2 separate regions of the Homo sapiens genome follow, and region 2 is linked to region 1. The links are contacts of gene promoters, found by promoter capture Hi-C in human tissues and cell types (Jung and others, 2019). All regions are on one chromosome and are shown on one strand. Each heading gives the region's core, a stretch centred on a gene start or on the middle of the fragment in contact. The rest is flanking DNA. Distances are from core to core; before and after follow the strand shown.

Evidence for each region. The method cuts DNA at HindIII sites, captures the fragments that hold promoters and counts their contacts. A contact is called where the count stands out against the background at its distance.
Region 2: a contact is called between a fragment that was not itself captured here and the fragment with the promoter of ZNF551 in region 1, in 1 of the 25 tissues and cell types used here (dorsolateral prefrontal cortex).

What each region holds. Positions count from the first base shown.
Region 1 is chr19:57,680,016-57,683,260 of GRCh38, reverse strand. It overlaps ZNF551 (zinc finger protein 551), which reads right to left and starts at 1,284. Exons shown (of 3, transcript NM_138347.5): 1 at 1,017-1,284. The coding sequence starts at 1,097. RefSeq lists a silencer at 844-913 and an enhancer at 969-1,592. The HindIII fragment of the contact is 9,267 bases long and covers 1-3,245 here.
Region 2 is chr19:58,222,309-58,225,480 of GRCh38, reverse strand. It overlaps the pseudogene LOC100419847. Among named protein-coding and RNA genes, the nearest start is that of ZNF544, 5.0 kb to the left of the region's middle. The HindIII fragment of the contact is 6,243 bases long and covers 1-3,172 here.

The DNA of each region.
Region 1 (3,245 bases), core at 35-2,534:
TTCACAGCCACCATTTTGGCCTATCACATTCTATCACATTCACCTGGCCTATCCCAGTAGTCTCCTCCCAGGTCTCCCCACCTCATCCTTCAGTTGGCTTCCCATGCTGCAGCCACAGGGAGCCTAATAAGACCAGAACCAGATCACCTCCCTCTTCCACTCCAAACCTCCCACTGTTACTATTAAGTAACGAATAGACAACTCAACTTCTCAGGGAACCATTCCGGGTCTGACTTCTACTACACTGCTCCCTGTTCTCATGAAAAGAAAATAATTGTAGGTTCCTGAACTATCTTAGCCTCCTCTCCAAACTTAGCATATACTGGTAACTTTGCCTTGGACAACCTTCTACATCTCCTTTCCCCCGGCTGCCAACAGCTTCATATAATCTAACCTGGACTTAAGACTCTGGGCTTTGTATTTGCTCAAAGTCTCAGGGCCCAAGGCTAGACGAGTGGCGAGGCTCAGGTCGCCCAATGACCCTGGTCCAGTTTTGGAGCCAGGTGGCCTGGGCTGGCTGCACTATCTCCGCACCTCAGTTCTCAGTGCTGACTTTACCAGCTGCGTGAGCTTGGACAAGAACTCAGTCTTCCTATGCCTAACTACTATTACCTCTCTTCAGCCTGTTCTTCCCCTGAGCAACTTTTGGATAGCTTTAGGAAATCCTAGCCCAGTGTCCCTATCTGTTCACAAATCTCGAAGGCTGCCAGTGTCCTCAGAATCGTCAAATTCGTCAGGTGCAACTCTGCCTCACTCTATGTTCCTGCAGACCCGAGACGGACCCCAGGCTCCTGAATCCCCCCCAGCTTAGTCGCAGCTCCAAGTTCTGCACGCGCCAGTCAACTGCCCGTCACATTTCCGTACACACTGGGCGTCACAAACGGGTCCAATCCACAAGCGCCTTCTTGTCCAGGGTACTGGGGCCTGGGCTGCAGGGCTGTGAGCAGGCATCCCTCACTGGGCCTTAAGGCTTCTGCTGGGGGAGGTAGGCGAGACCCGGAGGACGCACAACTCACCTGAGCCGAGTCCCTCAGCGCGACTGCCGCCATTGAGCTCCGTGGACTAGGCGGGGAGCGGCGGCCGACCGGGGCGGGCATTCGAACACAACAGTCCCTATCCCGGGCCTGGCGCAGCTCACCCGAGGTGGTGTCGCAGAACCTCTGGCCCACTTTCGCGACTTCTCTGTCCCGTCCCTCAGTCGCGACCTCCACTGCAGAAACTGGCGGGCTGGACAAACAGGACAGAGGCCAAAATGACCGCCACGAGGAGGACGCCGGAAGTTCCGGCCCGTCGCGCTGCGCGTGCGCGGAAGTGTTGCTATCCTGGGCTGTCATTGGCTCAACTCCGCCGCCGTTTTGCGCTCTGCACTCTGGATAATGTAGTTTCCAAAACTCCACGGAGCTCTTCGGAGTGTGTCCACTGCTTTGACCTCTGCGAACTTGTATTCTGAGGTGCTGTGCCCCGTGCAGGGAAATGGCGACTTCGGCCTCTAGGGGAGAAGGAGGTATTTACTCCTTCTTAAAGGGGCTTTTCCCAGATTTCTGGGAAGTGTTTTCCGTAACTGATCACTTAAGTGTTTAGAGACATTATTTCAGACTCCACGAAGCTCAGGGTGCCCCTAGAGGCAAACAAATATTATTTCAGGGGGTTGGGCGCGGTGGCTCACGCCTGTAATCCCAGCACTTTAGAAGGCCGAGGCGGGCGGATCACCTGAGGTCAGAAGTTCGAGACCAGGCTGGCCAACATGGCGGAACCCCATCTCTACTAAAAATACAAAAATTAGTCGGGCGGGCCGGGCGCAGTGGTTCACGCCTGTAATCCCAGCACTTTGGGAGGCCAAGGTGGGTGGATCACGCGATCAGGAGTTCGAGACCAGCCTGGCCAACATGGTGAAACCCTGTCTCTACTAAAAATACAAAAATTAGCCGGGCATGGTGGCGAGCGCCTGTAATCCCAGTACTTGGGAGGCTGAGGCAGGAGAATCGTTTGAACCTGGGAGGCAGAGGTTGCAGTGAGTCGAGATCACGCCATTGCACTCCAGCCTGGGCGACAGGGGGAGACTCCGTCTCCAAAAAAAAAAAAAGAAAAAAAAAATTTGGATTTTGGAGCATTTTGGATTTTAGATTTTTGGCTCAGGGATATTCAACCTGTATTTTGTTCTCATTAAATAGGTTCCTCTTTCACTTTGTTATTGTTTGATATACTAAAGTTTTAATTTTCATGAAGTCTAATTGGTCTATTTTTCTTTTGTCACATGTGTATTTGGTGTCAAATCCAAGAAATTATGGCCAAATTCAATGTCATAAAACTTTCACCCTATATTTTCTTTTAAGTGTTTTATAGTTTTGGGTCTTATGTTTAGGTTTTTAGTCCATTTTGAGTTCATTTGTGTTTTTGGTGTTAGGTAAGGGTTCACCTTCATTCCTTAGCATGTGAATATTTCATTTTCCCAGCATCATTTGCTGAAAAGATCATCGTTTCCCCATTGAGTGGTCTTGGTAGCCTTGTTGAGATCATTTGACCATATACATTACTATTGCAAATGATATTGTTTTCTTAATTTCCTTTTCAGATTTTTCATTGTTAGTGTATGGAAGGGCATATGAGTTTTACATGTTGACTTTTGCATGTTGACTTTGAATTCAGCTACACAGGTGAATTTGTTTATCAGTTCTTTTTTTTTTTTTTTTTCCCAGACGGAGTCTCACTCTGTTGCCCAGGCTAGAGTGCAATGGCTTGATCTTGGCTCACCACAAGTTCCACCTCCCAGGTTCAAGCAATTCTTCTGCCTCAGCCTCCCAAGTGGCTGGCACTACAGGCGCCAGCACCATGCCCGGCTAATTTCTGTATTTTCAGTAGAGCGAGGGTTTTACCATGTTGGCCAGGCTGGTCTTGAACTCCTGACCTCAGGTGAGCCACTGCGCCTGGGCTTTTTTGTTTTTGTTCTTGAGACAGTGTCTTGCTCTGTCTCCCAGGGTGGAGTGCAGTGGCGCGATCTCAGCTCACTGCAACCTCTGCCTCCCGGGTTCAAGCGATTCTCCTGCCTCAGCCTCCTGAGTAGCTGGGGTTACAAGCATACACCACCATGCCCAGCTAATTTTTGTATGTTTAAATTAATCAAAGTTGCCAGCAAAAAAAAAAAAAAATATTAATTCCTCCCTTAGAAGTTACAATAAACATCTTTTTAAAATTTTTTTGAGCCTGTCACCCAGGCTGGAGTGCGGTGGTCTGTTCTCAGCTCACTG
Region 2 (3,172 bases), core at 109-2,608, 540 kb before region 1:
AAGTTCATTAACAGTTTGACTCAAGAATGAGTTATCTGGTGCCTGACATGATTAGAATGCTGCCTGAAAGGCCTTTCTGCACTGATTATATGCATACAGTTTCTCTCTATTATGAATGATCTGGTGTTCCATAAGGTCAGATAGTCTCCTGAAGGCTTTTTCACATTTAGACATTCATGTTGGCTTTTGCCCATATGAATTTTTTGGTGCATACACAATAATAATTCTGTCTGAAAGTTTTTCCACGTTGACTACATTTATAGGCTTCTCTCCAGAATGAGTTATTTGCTGTTCAATAAGGTGAGAATTCTTGCTGCGGGATTTTCCACACCAGTGACATTCATGAGGTTTCTCTCTAATGTGAAATCTCTGATGCCATATAAGTAATCAGCTCCAGCTGATTTCCTACACTCAGGACACTCGCAGTTTCTCACCGGTATGATTTATCTGATGAGCAACAAGTGAGAACTCTAACTGAACCATTTCCAACACTGATTACAGTCACGAAGCTTCTTTCCAGTATGAGTTATTTTATGTGCAACAAGGCCAGAGCTGTATAGAAAGATTTCCTACCTTGACTACATTCATAAGGCTTCTCTCTATTACACTTTCCCTGATGCCAATTAAAATCAAGGATGTCACTGAAATATTTCTCACATTGATTACATGGAATTGTTTTTCTTCAGTATGAGTTTTCTATTGCCCAATTAGATGAGATCTCCTGCTGAAAGCTCTCTGACGTTCCCGATGTTCCCAGAGTCTTCAGTATACGTCTAACAAGGTGGGAGCACCAGGCTGAAAAACTTTCCACATTGATTACATTCATAAATTTTCTATCTGGTATAAGTTGTGATGTGCAACTAGGTGAGAGCTCCATCAAAAAGATTTACCATGTTGAATACATCCATGGGGTTTCTCTCCAGGATGAGTCCTCCCCCTTTGAGAAAGGCAAGAGCTATAAAAGAAGTTTTTCTCAAATTTATTATAATCACATGAATTATTTTATTTTTTTTTTTGAGTCTTGCTTTGTTGCCCAGGCTGTAGTGCAGTGGTGCGATCTCTGCTCACTGCAAGTTCCGCCTCCTGGGTTCATGCCACTCTCCTGCTTCAGCCTCTGGAGTAGCTGGGATTACAGACCCCCGCCACTATGCCTGGCTAATTTTGTTTTTGTATTTTTAGTACAGATGGAATTTCACCGTGTTAGCCAGGATGGTCTCGATCTCCTGACCTCGTGATCCGCCCACCTCGGCCTCCCAAAGTGCTGAGATTACAGGCGGGAGCCACCGTGCCTGGCCAAATTATTTTATCTTTTAAGATTCTCTGGTGTACATTTAGGGATATACTGGGGGTTGTTTTTTGTTTTTTCCTTTTGGCCAGTAGAGATCTAGTGTTGTTCAAGTTGTCTATATTTACTATAGTTATAAAATTTTCCTCCTGTATGACTTTTCTTCTGAATATTAAAGGGTAAAACATGGCAGAAATAAAGATTATTGTTGGCATGCTTATACAGTTTATCTTTTGTTTGCTTTCTTATTAGATGATTAAGGTGAAGCTCTGACAGAAAGTTGGTACACACTCATTTTTGCACAATTTTTCACTTCCATAATTTTTTTTTTTGAGACAGAGTCTCGTTCTGTCGCCCAGGCTGGAGTGCAGTGGTGCGATCTTGGCTCACTGCAACCTCTGCCTCCCAGGTTCAAGCAATTCTCCTTCCTCAGCCTCCTGAGTAGCTGGGATTATGGGCGCGCACCACCACGCCCTGCTAATTTTTGTACTTTTAGTAGAGTCGGGGTTTCACTATGTTGATCAGCTGGTCTCGAATCCCTGACCTCGTGATCTGCCAGCCTCGGCCTCCCAAAGTGCTGGGATTACCGGCATGAGCCACCGTGCCCGACTATAATTTTTCTAATGATTATTGAAATAAACTTATTTTTCAAACTTTTATTCTGTGAGCCAGGTTTATGGAAATATTATAGTATGAATTATCTGGAGTGGAAAAAAGTTGGAACTCAGGAAATAACAGAAAATTCAAATAGAAGATGACATAGACTCCCATCCTGAAATTAAATCTTATGTTTTCATTTTTGGATGACTCTCGTTTTTGCCCAAGTGCATGCTCACTTTTACATGTCTAGAAAAACTTCATACCTTGTGGCTGGGCTCAGTAGCTCACGCCTGTAATTCCAGCACTTTGAGAGGCTGAAGTGGGCAGACCACAAGGTCAGGAGTTCAAGACCAGCCTGACCAACGCGGTGAAACCCTGTCTCTACTAAAAATACAACAATTAGCCAGGCATGGTGGCGGGAGGCTCAGCTACTCGGGAGGCTGAGGCAGGAGAATTGATTGAATCTGGGAGGCAGAGGTTGCAGTGAGCCAAGGTCATGCCATTGCATTCCAGCCTGGGCAACAGGGCAAGACTGTCTAAAAAAAAAAAAAAAAAAAGAAAAAGAAAAAAAAAAACTTCATACATTGAACCTTACATTCATATTTTCTCTTAACTAATTATAGCAGACATCACTTTCAATTTGCTCCAGCCTACTTCTTCCCCCTCATCTGCACCTCTTTCAGTGTAAAATCCTAGCATTCACCTCCCACACTCTTCTCTATTTCCAAACACAACATAAACAATACTGTAGTAAACACCCCCGGACACCCAGAATTAGTGCCTTCATTTCTATAGGTCAGAGCCCCTCCAGTGGGACTGCACAAGTTGAAGGATAAGTGTATTTTTGATTCTCTTAGGTATTACCAAATTACTTTCCAAAGTGAGAATAATAGTCCCTATTCTTTCCAGCATTGGGTATTATCCTTTGTATTTTGCCAGTATTTTGGGTAAAAGTAACATTTTGTGTAATTTGTATTCCCTAGCTACTTGTGATTTCAGGATCTTTACATATTCTTACTGGTTATTTGAGGTTTTGTTTTCTGTGTTTTGTCTAATTAATATTTTTTTCTTTTTTGGCACTTTATAGGCGTTCATGATAGTTTATCAATGTTAATCTCGTCTGTCATTTGTGTAACAAATATTTTTCTCAATACATAGTTTATTCTCTTTTTAAATTTATGGTATCTATTTTAGCATACAAAAAATTCTTTTTAGGCCAGATGCAGTGGCTCATGCTTGTAATCTCAGCACTTTGGGAAGCTCAGGCAAGAGAATCACTTGAGGCCA